Regions from separate parts of the Homo sapiens genome. Here region 2 is linked to region 1. The links are contacts of gene promoters, found by promoter capture Hi-C in human tissues and cell types (Jung and others, 2019). All regions are on one chromosome and are shown on one strand. Each heading gives the region's core, a stretch centred on a gene start or on the middle of the fragment in contact. The rest is flanking DNA. Distances are from core to core; before and after follow the strand shown.

Region 1 (6,800 bases), core at 1,336-3,835:
TACGATTTGAGTGCTCAGAAAGAGCTGGAGGAGGTGCTATATGTGGCAAAAGATAAGCACATTTTAAACTGCCTTATACTTTTAAACAAATAATAATAAATCAGCATTTACTGTAATAAAAATACTTTATCAGGCCATCTCACACAGTTCCCAAAGCTTATGAGGAAAAATTTAAGTCAATTTCCTTTTAATAAATATTATTTAACGACTGGAACATTTAGAGAAACATACATAAGCAGGCCGTGGCAGCACGTCACTCAGGGACAATAATCTAACAGGGAATTTCAGACAACCTAGCCTAGACTAAATGCTGGGCAGCACCTGGCAGACAAGGTGGCAAAGCCCCTATAAATAGTGATGATTCACTAACATGACATAAATCAAGATTTTAACTCACCAAAAACTAACATTTTGATTTAAAAACACAAATCAGTGCCATTAAAATTCATCAGCGGCCCCTAGCACATGAGTAATGAGATCATATCAACTTATATCATGTAACTAAAAGGAAAAGGTGGTTTTCTAAATGGTAATTCAGATTGGACAAATAACACACTGTATCAAGTTTTGTAGCTCTAGGCCATATTTTGCTAAACACAAAGGTACATTATGCATGACTAAAGAAAACAGTGAAAATCAGAGCAATTAATTTCCCAGCTATGTTTCCCATAAAAAGACATCACTACTATGATCTGCTTATAACACAAACTTTTTTGCATTGCACAATGATCTAAGTGTGTAATAACTTACATATTTCACTAAGATGTAACATCCTTCAAAACATCCTTATAATGAAAGTTTTCCAAAAACATTATTGATCACCGGCATGTCTCATGTTTTAAAATTACTGACGAATCCTTTACTATTTTCTTTACAGCTAGAAATAATTCTTCTTGATCACTAGAGTGTAAAGGGGTATAAAGTACAAAGACTGAATATTTTCTTAAATACTAACATCCCAGTTGACACAGGACATTTCCCATAACTTGCCCAAAACAATAATTAGGAGAGTTGTCACTGGAATCCTAAAAATATATGTAAGAAAACAGAGATTCGTTGGCATCAATTTAGCACAGCAAGAGATTTCCATTAAGTGCTTTTTCAAATTATTTGCAAACACTTTTTAGCTGAACCCTCTCATTTCCAGTGGAGCCTTTTATGTTTCTTTGCAGAACTCAAGAACCTTTTCTCAGGTGGCTCTGCTTTGCTGCAGGTAAGTTTGGTATTAACACATTTTCTTTATCTGTTGGAGGTAGTGAAACGGCTCTCTTCCTCCGTTGTCTTTCACTGGCACCTTTGTGGCCGCTCGTAGTCACTGACCTCACCTTGCTGGAAAGGTGGCTAAGAAAAGAGCAGTTTCTAATAACTCAAGGGAACTGCAGCGTTTCCATTCAGAACAAACAGCAGGACCCAGCTGGAGGGGTGCAGCTCTAAAGAAGTAAGACCCGCACCACAGCGGACAACTTCCAGAGGCTCTTCTCCAACACCGCCAAACACAGGCGGAAACACGGAGCCTGGACAGAAAGAGGGACGAGCAGAGAGATGGGCGCAGAGAGCAAGAGACAGGGGAGCCAGGAAGACCGGGAGCGAAAGCCTCTTGAGAGAGAGAGAGAGACCAAAAGATTGTGCGAAAGTGACAGAGGGAAGAGGATGAAGGGACAGAGGAGGGACACACTGGGAGAGCCAGAGCAGGCGGTGGGGAGAGGGAGACAGACGCACGGAAGGAAAGAGAGACCGGGGGGAGAGGCAAAGGATAGCAATAAGGAGAGGAAGGGAGAAAGGAAGAAAAGGGAGAGAATGAAAGACCCAGAACTTGAGAGAGAGGCATAGAGAGAGAGAAGCAGGAGAGAGAGGAGAAGAGACAGGCAACTGAAGCAGAGACGGAGCCCAGTCCAAGGCGCCGGGACCAGCCCGCTGCGCACTTTCCCCCACGGCAAGGCTGGGTCTCGGGAGGCGTCCGGGGCAGGTGGGTGCCTGCGGGTCCCGCCTGGGCTGGCCCTGGGCCCCCGCCCCGCCGGGCTCCCTCCCATTTCCCGGATTCCGCGACTGCCCTCAGCTCGCCCTCCCGCCCCATCCCTCCGCTCGCAGGTCCGACTCCCTGCCTTGGGGCGTCCCTACAGCCCGAAGCACGTGTCCCGCCCGCCGCCGCCGCTGCCCCGACTCCTCGCCTGCGCAGGCACGAGGCCTCGGGGTCCCGGCAGAGCCGCCCGCGCACAAAGCCGAGGCGGCCACCGCCTGACCCCCTCCCCGCCGCCGCCACCGCCCCACGGCCGCGCAGCCCGCCCTCGCTCTCGCCCTCTCCCTCGCGCGCTCCGTCCTGCCTAGGGCGACCGCCGCCCAGCTCCGCACCCAGCCGCTACCCGTCCCGCGCCGCCCCTCGCTCTGCCCGGCTCTCGCCGGCTCGGCCGCCTCCCGCGCGCTCGGGAACTCGGCCACCCGCAGGGGACGGGGCCCCGCCGCGCGCGCCTTACCCGCGGCTGCGCTCCCGGCTCCCGCGTCCTCAGCGCCGCGGTCTCCGCACTGCCCGGCGTCCCGCGAGGCCCCGCCGACTCCGCGCCCCGCGCCCGGCTGCGCCGTCAACTTCTGGCCGCCGCGGCCGCTCCGCCGCCGCCGCCGCCGCCACCGCGGGACTTTTTTTTTTTTTTTTTTTTTTTTTCCCTCTCGCTCCTCGGCTGCCTCTGGAATTTTTTTTTTTCACTTGCCCTCTCCAGCTCCCACTAGTGATTGGAGACTGAGAGCCAAGTACTTAGCGGAGGGATTACACTTCTCAACGCACTTGGAGCGGCCCCAGCGCCGCCGCCTGTGTGCGGAGTGCGGAGCCGACTTGGGGAGCGGCGGGGTGCGGGCCGGAGGCAGCCCGGGTACAGGGGTGCGCTTCCCAAGCCCCGTCCGCTGCTCAGAGCATCCCCAAGATTTCCCTCATGGGTCCTGTCCTGGTTGTTTAAGAAGGTTTCCAGAAAACCTCCTGGTTTGAAGAACAAAGATTCGTGGAATTATTGTACCTTGAGAGCTGGAAAGGGCTCGCAGAGATGATATAATGTCGTGGATTTCAACTTTTCGGGGCCATAGACACTTTTCAGAAATTGATAAAACGTTGACACACCTTGTAAAAAATGAACACATTAAAATTAAGCCTGCAGTTTGAGGTGGGGGTTTTAAGAATCTTGAAATATATACAGTTGAGCGTCCAAGGGAAATGAAATATTTCCCTTCTACATATTTTTTGAAACCGTTAAACGAAAACAACCACCAAAAAATTAAAAATAAAAAAATAAAACCCAAAAGAGAAAACCCATTCCATTTGTATTTGATGACAGTTTACAGTTAGTCGTGTTTCTTTTGGAAAAGTATGTAACGTCTTATACTTTGTGGTCTCCTTGCTAAGTCTTTAAGTGTTGAAACACTTTCTAAGTGGGTAAATATAAAGTAAGCTAGTTCACAGTCAGAAATTTGGGGAGAATAGTTAACCTCTTTAAAATCAGCCATTTTGCCAACTCTATTTCCCAGGGAGATATCTCGTGACTTCCAAATACTCTTTTCCTTTCAATACCTTTCAGCTTCCCACTCTCCAGCATTACTTATTTTCTCCTTCTGTAAAATTTTTTTCCTCCAAAATATTGACAAACAGTCTCTGGTCACCACCAAGTGTGTGATCTAAGTCATTTTTTTTTTTAACAGTTTTTCACCCTGAAGTAACTTTCTTCCAATTTTCTTCATATCTATTTCTATATTCAATTCTTAGCCTACTATTTTCTTTCAACTACTCCCTTTTCTTAAATTGTTTCTATTAAATCTTTTTTAAACATTAAATGTAATCTTTTTGCACTTATCAATAAAAAATTCATTTGTGTATCAATTTATTTTATGCAGCTTGCACTTAAAGCAGGCGGTGCCCCCAGTGTTTATTGAGTGTATGAAGATGTGGTCATGTTTTTTCTATAAAAGCAATGTTAGAGTCTCCACAAAGGTCTTTTTGCCCCATGATATATCTGCATTGTGATTTCTAATGCCAAACTGGAAGAAGAAAGGTATCTGAAAGAAAATTTCCAAAACAAGTGAAATTAGTCATTGACATCATCTGACCTTCCTTATTCAACCACTGTTCCAGTCCCCAGTACCAGTACTCATCCTCTTGCCCCAAGAATTCCAAGATAAAATCCATTCATTTTACTCTCATCCCAATTCTTCTCTGATACCCTCACTCCCACCCCTTCCCTTTTCCACCTCCTTTCTTTCAAAACAATAAAGCATATGACTACCTAAATTACCTTCTACCTGGTCCTCAATCCAATTTTTCATCATCTCCATCCTCATATTAACTAAGTGTTTTGTGGGGAGAAGGGGGCTTGAAGACACGGAAATTATAACTTCTACACCATTAAAATAAAAGACAAAGCAAGGAATTATGAGCTATTATGTAATTAACTAAAAATAATAAATTATCGAAAATGAAATGTGAGTTTAGAAATATGAGTTTTAAATATTGAAAATAAGATACCAAATTATAATTCATTACAGAGCTTATGATTGTATACATAGAAAAGCTTAGAGAATTTACTGGAAATCCATAGAACTAAAAATGTAATGTGTTGATCATTGTCAATATCTCATCAACATTAAGCAAGTTTAAAGAGGAAAGAAACCTGATTGAATCTATCCTTTCTACTGTGTGAATTACTGATAATTTGTATTTGACAGCTGTATAATCTCCCTTAGAATTGGAGCACTCATAAACTGCAGTGAAATAAAGCAGACATTATGCAGAATGTTTTGGAGCTAGTGGTATTGTCACCTGTATCTTTTCAGAAGTTGCACTAAGGATTATCTTTCCTTGGCTTAACTCCTCCATTCAGCAAATATCCTTCAGAGAATCTGCTGGGTATAAGATACTGATTCAGGGAATACAGGCATCTCTGGATAGAGAAGACACAGATTCCACTTCAATCAACTTGCAGACAAGGAGACAGATTTTTTTAAATACCTTGTTTAAATATATTTTTTAAAATTCCAAATCAGAGAACAAAGGAAATTCCTGTAGGTCTTTGGGATGAAAAAAAAAAAGCACTCCAGGTGGGAGAAAATGGGGTACAGGGGAAACTGTGTTTGAGGTGGGCCTTAGATGGTAACATTTCTGTAAGCAGGAATGGGGAGCCTTGGAAAGAAGCTATTCAAAAATCAACATTTTTGAGTGCCTATGACAAACCAAGTCCTGGTATTTGAGAGGCAAACTCTGTCCATTCCTTCTTGAAACTCATAATACAGAAGAAACAAGATACTTAAAAAATATATAGAACTTTCTATGAGAAGTGCATTAATGCATGAACACACAATTTTTGGAGCATAGAAAAATGAACTATTCTGCCTAGAAATCTCAGGAAAACCTTCCTAGAGTAGTCACATTTCATAAGGGTCCTGAAGGATCTTTAGAGATCAAAGCGGGGCTAGAAAGAGAATAAACATCCTAAGCAAGGAGAACCCTATGAAAAAGCATGGCGTGTTTAGAGAACAGCTGGTATCTCAGTGCTGCTATCCAAGTGATGAGGAGAAGGTGCAGCAGATGACTCTCTTAGGCTAAGCAGGGTTCAGAAATAACCTTCTCAAACATACTAATGAAATTGATTTTTTCCTTATTAGGTAATGGAGAAGCACTGGAGATTTGTAAGCCACGGAGTCAAATGGTGGACTGGGATTTTCAGGAGATCATTTAGAGGTACCTGGAGAGGGAGAAATGAAAGCACAAAACTAATTAAGGGTCTGTCATTGAAAGAAGGAATACTTGAACCAAGACAATGGTGTAACTACCAAGACAGCAGACTCAAAAGACACTTCCTATATTGCTAACTGTAGCCTTGGATTTTGGTGCCTTTAAAGGCCATAGGAGCCAGATGTGGTGGCATATGCATGTAGTCACAGATACTCAGAGGCAGAGGTGGGAGGATCCCTTGAGTTCAAGACCAGCCTGAGCAACATAGTGAGACCCCCACATGCCCACACCATATCTAAATAAATAAATAAGTAAATAGAGACCACTGGGGGGAGAAGAATAGAAAGGAGGGGCTTCATTGGGTGCATGACAAATTTTAGCAAAAGCAAGATTTTTTTCCCCTCTGCTTCTACATAAGGAAACCAGGGCAGTGTATATAGGACTCTCAAACACTTGCAGGCATATTTCCCATTAAGAAAGACATTTGCCCAGGCCCACTGGAATTGAACTATTTGGGGAATTTATAAGTAGAGAAATAGGACAGACCTGGGGACACAGCTTGCTTCTATGCTGTCAGCCTCCCCTTCTCCTTCCTCTTCATGGATATCCTCACTCCTACCACTTTCCTTTTCCACCCCCCTCTTCTCTCAAAACTGAAGGTAAAGGATTTGACCACCATTAATATATTGTCATAAATCAAGGCATACAATGCTAAGTAACATTCTAGAACATGTGCTTTTAAACTATTTCTCTCTAATTGTGGAATAAAAGTCTGCCTCTTTTCAGGTATGGTATTTTAGGAATCAGGTGAAGGAAATATTTTTCAGTGTAAGAAAGAGATCTTTTTCTTGCTCTTCTGTTCCTACTGCTGTGGTTGTCTTATTGTCCACTGCTACATGTTGACTCTACATATACAAAATAAGTGGTTAAGCCTCTCAACAAACAGAGTATTTAAATTTTTGCTTGTTAATATAATAACTTGGTGAAATGTGTACCTTCCATAATAAAAGCCACATTTATGGAGTGGTTACCATGATACAGGCACACTACTAAGTAGCTCACATTTATTATCAACCTGAGGCCTCATAATAAGGTA
Region 2 (7,505 bases), core at 3,721-6,220, 200 kb before region 1:
CAGCAAACATTTTCTATAAAGAATCGGGTTTTGCCGGCCATGTGGTCTCTGATAAAGCTACTCAACTCTTCACTGTAGCAGAAAAACGGCCATTGTCCTAGACAACACATAAACAAATGAGGGTGGCTGAATTTCAATAAAACTTCCTGTATATATAATAGGTGGTGGGCTAGATTTGGCCTGCAGACCATCATTTACTGACTCCTGAACCAGATACAGCTGGGGAGGGACAGTGGATCAGTCACTGGTATGTTCCACCATGAGTAACTGAAAACCTAAAAAAGCAGTGCTAAACAAAAGTTTGGCTCGCTCTCATTCTAAACAAAATCCACAGATAACAGACAGGTCTGTTAAGGCAACTCCACAATTCTGAAAGACTCAAGCTCCTTCTATACCATTATTTCACCAGCCTTAACATGTGACTTCTAGCACTTGCTTCAAGATATGAACTTGAGTTTGAGCCATGAAATGAGCATTCCAGCAAGCAGGAATGAAGAAGGGTACAAAAGGGCATGCCCCTTCATCTTAAGGACAAATCTGTAATTCACAAAACATTTCTGCTTGGCTAGTTGTCTACTGTCATATAAATGCCAAAAAGGATCACACTTGTTTCAAAGTAAGTGGCTCAATATCTTGAGCTTTTATCATTAATTCTCTCTAAACTAAAATATATATATATATATTTTTCATACACCTCTGGATTGTTAGCCTGTATAAAATTCCTTATTGGCTGAAAGCTACTCAATAAACTGTTTTCCTTCTGTCTGTAGTAATAAAACTATACAACACTATAAACATTTTCCATGTTAAACTCCAAGATATTTGGTTTTCTGGCTAGAAACAGTAGAGCTTTTGTTTTTAAAATTAAAGCAGACCCTTAGACCTAATTTACCTCAGAATGCCAAATATTTTTCTCTTCTGTTACGCTCTAACATTACTATCACCTATTCCAAAAACACATGACTTATGACTATATAAGAAACCGATGGTACCATCTCTGGGTAGTCCCTGAAAATGGCTCATTGATATAAAGAATAGGAAAAAACAAGAATGTCTGAAGATAAATATCTCTTAAAGGGTCTAGTATACAGGAGATTTATGCTGTGAAATTATGCTTATGATAAACAAGAGTCTTAATACTACAGCTGTACCAAGGAGATGTTTCACAGAGCACTGGTTATACAGATAGGACATTTTCTTTTATCGAAATAATTTGACTTTCCTTAAAAGATAACTCATGACAAAAGCTGCCATCTTAAAACATGAAGATTTACTACATTTTTGGACCTTCATATTGGTAAAAAGAGACAAAAGCATCCCGGATAGTTCTAATTAGATAAAGGAGTTGGTCTTTAGGACCATGCAGTAATTCAATATGTGTTGACACTAACTCTCAATTTAAACAATAATTCAAAGGATTTTATGCCTTTACTTTGACACTGAAAACATGCAGATAATTCGATTAACATTTAAATCTTTGAACACTAATTTTTAAAGGGCCTCTCACATTGACCTTTTAATTTTTTACTTTTAAGGAGATTTCAAAAATAATAAATAATGCACAAAACTTACCAAATTGCAACTAAAATCATACTCTCTACCCTAGATCTTATTTCAGATATATCTCAACTCACATAATATTTTTATTACCTGACATTTTAATCAAAGATCAAAAACTTCACTGGCCAAAGTATTTCCAAAGCTCTGTGAAGTAAATTAACTTTATGAAATGGAACCCAACTACATATTTTGTAATGAAATTTTATATTACATTTCAAGAAAAAATGCTGTCCTTATAAAGATAGCCAATGTGGCTCAGACAATAATAATGGTAAAAATATGTAAAAGAAATGTGAGAAGTAAGAAATATTTTAATAAACCCAAAGTAATATTCAACTTTGAGGAATCTCTGCAAAATGCTTACTGACTCATGGATTACCAATGAGTCCATCCTGACTGGGTCGGAGAAGGGGTCTTACTTTACAATGTTATCAGGCAGAAAGCAAAGGCAGAGGTGAGGTGGGAATAATTTGAACACATTGTTTCAAGGTGTTCTACATGTCTCATAAGACTGTAATACTTCAACTACCTTAACATTATCATGGATTACTAACAGGATCATTTAAAATGCTTTGGAAAAGGTATTTCATTCCACAAGTCATGTGTAAATGAATGCTTACTTTTTATACTAAAAATATAAAGAAATTTGTAGACTAAAAATCCCAAAATTCTTTCTGCGTCCCCCTCCAGTTCTGTAATCTTTAATATGGACTCCCCATCACTAGGATCATAGAGTTAAAACACCTTTTCGTGGCTTTCAAGCAACCCTAAAATCTGGTCTCCCTTATCCTACTGACACCTACCTTCTCAAGACTTCCACACTTCAGGCTCTTTTCCAGCCAAATCAGCTTCCTCGTGTTTCCAACTATACCATGCTCATTCCAAATCAAGATTTTAATCATTGTTTATAACTCCTGACCTGTAATCATTCTGCTTAAACTTGCATTACCATCCTCATTCCCTAGTTAAAGCCCTAATGTACTCATATGAGCCCCTGACCACTCCAGCCTGAGTCCTCTTATTTCAGAGTACAGAGATACAGGTTACCCACACTACTAATTATGACACCAGACACCATGAGAGCATCCTCATAATAAGAAATACACATTTCCAAACAACGACTAACACTGTGGACCTACTGTTATGAGCTGAATTGTGCTCCCCAAAATTCATACGATGAAGTCTCAGAATATGACAGTATCTGTAGACAAAGCCTTTAAAGAGGTAATTATGTTAAAACAAGGCTGTTAGGGTGGTCCCTAACCCAACATGACTGGCGTTCTTATAAGAGATTAGGAGACAGAAGGAGACACCAGAGAGATGACACTCATAGAGGGACAATGATGAGAAGGAAGCAGCAAAGGGTAGCCAAATGAAAGCCAAGGAGAGAGGTCCCACAAGAACCCAACCCTATGGACATCTTGTTCTTGGACTTCCAGCCTCCAGAACTGTGAGAAAGTTAATCTGTTGTTTCAGCCACCCAGTCTGCAGTATTTTGTTAGGGTAACCCTAGCAAGGTAATACACCTGCCATATGCCCAGACAGTATATACAATGTCTTACTTATGTAATACTTTACTCATCAACACAGCTCTGTATGGAAGGTGTGCTTATTATCCAAGGAAACGGAAAGAAATGAAGTAATCTGCTCAAGGTCTCACAGATACATGCTAGAGCTTAAGTCTGCTTTATTTTAAAGGTCATGATATTATCCACCATGTTGTATTAATCATATGTGAATGATCCAAATAGAACACTATTATTGCTTATTCTGCTTTCTCAGTAGAATGCTGATAAACGATGGATGGACTGAGAATTAGAAAACATTTTTTTACCTTTTATTCCATATATTTTTAAGAATATATATAGTAGTCAGTTTCCAAAGTTAATAATGGCCTACAAATCAACACACATGTTGATCTTGATTCCATCTACGCTTCTTATTTCATATCAAATATGAGTGATAACCCACCGTATACAACCTAATAAAAAGGTTACCATATTTCACCGATGCAAAAACCTGTATTTTTTACATTTTTAACATATTTGAAAAAGATACATCTTACAATCAGTAACATTTATCATCTTAGATCTCAAAGCGAAATGTATCTTAGATCTCAGAGTTGATGAAATACTTTAATTCATTAACTGAAGTTATATGTTGTCTCTGAGACTTACATAAAAATGAATGATCACAAGACCATCTGATGCATTCCTGTGAGGAGCTAAAGGAACAGTAGAAAGGTGGGCCAGTCGAAGAAAAATATTTCTTACCTAAAGTTGCAGTGCAAACAATGAGGAAAGAAGAGGGAAACAAAGAAAGAAAAGAAAAAGAAAAAAGGGCACATGAAATTGCAAACAGCACTACAAGTAATAGAGCTCATTTTAAACATCCTAAAGTCTTATAAGAAAATGAAAAGACAAAAAGAAAAAGCCACAAAAAATTCTTATATACATTCTCCCACACACATGTTGCAAAAGGAAAAAAAAAAAAAAAAAAAAAAAAAAACACGAAACAGGAGGTGGACTCTCTGTACACAGTGTGTCCATAAAGTGGAAACCAGTCTCACACTTTATAGTCACACCTCATATACCGCCATGGAAGGCAGGCCTCCTAGGTGAGGCATCGAGTTTCACAGGCATGCTCAAACACAGGATTGTTAACACTAATCCCCAGCAAGATCTGTGAATGAGAAGAAAGAAAGATAGGTAAATAGCCTGGGAAATATGGCCCCAATTAGAGGACTCACAACACTTGCCCTATTGATTATCTGTTATTTTGCCAAATGAATAAACCAGTAACAGTCATTGAATGCTGTGTGTATCAACATAGTAATCTACAATTTAAAAGACTGCTTTACAATTTTTACCACAATGATGCCTGTGTTCATCTTTAGTTACCTCTTAATTTATATTTCTACTTGAAAATATGCAGTTTTCTTTGATGTCACAAGTAATACGACCTAAAGCCCATTAGAAAAAGATGTAGTTACAATTACACTGAAACTGAGCCTTTTTGAAGAGTTAAAAAAAAAATTAAATTCTTTCTTTAAACAACACAGTAAAAATCAAACTCTACTTCCATCAAAGGGCTGCCAAAAATACTACTGATGGGATTTGCCAATGATCCATAATTCATATTATAAAGTATGATAAGAGCACACTAAATCTGTTAAAGTTGTTAAAAAGTAAATTCTGGTCTGTTATTGTCACCCAGGTATCTAGAAATTAAATGCAGAACTCTATTCTATAAATGTTCCACAAACTCAGTACTCTGTTCTTTTTTCTTTCTGGAGATGAGCTTTACCAGTTAGTTTTCATCATACAAACAAGAAACCATTAAAATCTGATGTGCTGACCTCAATTAAAAAAGAAGGTTAAAATAAGCTACCCCACATTCCAAAACATAAAAGCCTCTTATCTTTTTGTGTTATTGTTAATAATTATATTATGTCTTTATGGGGAGGGGGTTATCATAAAAACAATTTTTATTTAAAAAGAAACATGTGCTTTGGGAGACCGAGGTGGGAGGATCACTTGAAGCCAGGAATTTGAGACCAGCCTGGGAAACACAGCAAGACCTCATCTCTACAAAAAGGTAATTAAAAATTAAAAAAAAGAAACAAACAGGTGAACCTAAAACTCTCTTCTAAAAATAAGTCTTTAAATACGTAGAAAGAAATTACAAGGCATGTTTGGTTTTAAAACTACTGATGAACTATAATTTCAAAACGTAAGATACCAAGAATTTGTAAAGGTTTTCATTTTATTGCGAACTTAAAAAATAAAGTATAACTTGTAATCACAAACACAACTAAATAAAATCTATTGGCAACATCTGATTCCTCATTTATAAAATGAGGAAAGAGTATTTGCTGCCTCAGAGACCTATTGCAAGAATTAAATGTGTTGGCCAGGCACGGTGGCTAAAGCCTGTAGTAATCCCAGCACTTTGGGAGGCCGAGGCAGGCGGATCACCTGAAGCCAGGAGTTCGAGACCAGCCTGACCAATATGGTGAAACCCTGTCTCTACTAAAAATACAAAATTTAGCCGGGTGTGGGGGCGTGCACCTGTAACCCCAGCTACTCAGGAGGCTAAGACAGGAGAATCGCTTGAACCCAGGAGGCAGAGCTTCAGTGAGCCGAGACTGTGCCACTGCACTCCAGCCTGGGTGACAGAGCGAGATTCTGTCTTTAAAAAAAAAGAATTAAATGTGCTAATACGTGTAAAGCATGAGGAACAATGCCTAGCATAGCATGCACCTGCTAGTGTTTGCTCTTAGGATTAGTAACAGTATTGACTATTAGTATTAACATTATTAGCACTGACTGAAGGTCCAGTCCACCTCTATCTAGACACATACAAATCTATTTAAGGCATGTCCCACAGGAAGACTCTTCTCTGTAACTCAGCTCTTACACACATGACTCTCTTCTAAACTCCTACTGCTGCTAGTCTGACTACACATCCTAGATTTTAATTAATTTTCATTTTTCACTGCTGTGTATATTAAGCTTAAGTAATCACATGGATATAAAGTCCTTAAAAAAGGAGATCATGAAACACAGTTTCTGCTGTCTTCTCCAGTTCTCAAGCCTCAAGCCCTGAAGGAAGCAACTCTCTTCAGAGCAGTTGACAGAAATTGAATCATCTTCAGCTAACACTAGTTATAGGCAAGGCAGAAGATGCTAAACACCATAACGGTACTGATCACATTCCCACTTTTCAGGTGCCTTCCAGTTTAACTACAGAGATAGAAATATGCATACTATAAAGCAACATAAGTTCTAAGCTAAATCATACACCCACTACAATTCTTGCTGTTTGGAAGTCTAATGATGGAAAGATTAAAAGTATAAGGGGGTTAGGAAAGACCTAATGGAGACAGACTGTGAATGTGAAGGGTAAGTCTTATATAATAATAATAACAGTAGTAAGAATTACCAGTAAAAGAGCATTTAGCATCATGTTAAATAATTTTCATACAATAAGCAAAACAGCTAATATATATTGGGTGTTCAGTATGCATCAGGAACTATTCTAAGTGCTTTATAAATATTAACACTTTTGATCTTCAGAATATCCCTTTTGAGATATATATTGTGGTCTCCATCATTTAAAAAAGAAAACTAAAAGGGAGACACAGAAAATATAAATATGATCATACAGCTTATTTGCCCAAGATCACTCAGCTCATAAATAGAAAGACTGAGTTATAAAACCAGGACCGCAGGCTCTCAAGTCCCACTCTTTATCATTATGCTTAACTAGTCTCTTTATGGGCTCATCTAATTCTCATCACAATTCTGCAAAGGTGGTTGTGCATTCCACATACTGAAATCTATGTAAACAGAGTCTTTGGCATGTGCATTGCACAATCTGAGCAGCCATATGTGGCAGCCTTAATGATATGCATTGCATAGGTAGAAAGTTTAATAATCTAGCCAAAGCTGCAGAGTTTGTATAGTCAAGATCTGAAATGCAGTCAGTCTCACTCTTTTCACTCAGCCATGAAGTATATGAGTAGAAAATAAATGTTGAGAACATGTTAGACGGAGAGAAAAGAATCAGGAAAGCTAAGGTATAGTAATGAGCGAGAACTGTTCTGGGCTCCAAGGAATAAACCAGTCTCTGGTTTGGTCAGAGAGAGAATAGGATGAAAACACGCACTTCATCTCCCATCTGACAACATGCTCTCTAACCAGTTTAGAGAAGAACATAAAAGACCTGATGGAGCTGAAAAACATAGCACAAGAACTTTGTGAAGCATACACAAGTATCAATAGCCAAATCGATCAAGTGGAAGAAAAGATATCAGAGATTGAAGATCAACTAATAAAATAAAGTGTGAAGACAAGATTAGGGAAAAAAAATGAAAAGGAATGAACAAAGCCTCCAACCTCCAAGAAATATGAGACTATGTGAAAAGACCAAACCTATGTTCC

Evidence for each region. Contacts are between HindIII fragments. The study calls those that stand out against the background at their distance.
Region 2: a fragment that was not itself captured here is called in contact with the fragment with the promoter of BMPR1B in region 1 in 1 of the 25 tissues and cell types used here (aorta).

The regions. Positions count from the first base shown.
Region 1 is chr4:94,753,740-94,760,539 of GRCh38, reverse strand. BMPR1B (bone morphogenetic protein receptor type 1B) reads right to left here and starts at 2,585. Exons shown (of 13, transcript NM_001203.3): 1 at 2,472-2,585. It overlaps BMPR1B-DT (BMPR1B divergent transcript), which reads left to right and starts at 3,007. Exons shown (of 3, transcript NR_121610.1): 1 at 3,007-3,146; 2 at 5,635-5,710. The HindIII fragment of the contact is 6,502 bases long and covers 1-6,050 here.
Region 2 is chr4:94,953,897-94,961,401 of GRCh38, reverse strand. The region is part of intron 2 of BMPR1B (bone morphogenetic protein receptor type 1B); the gene reads right to left. Among named protein-coding and RNA genes, the nearest start is that of BMPR1B, 200 kb to the right of the region's middle. The HindIII fragment of the contact is 4,014 bases long and covers 2,964-6,977 here.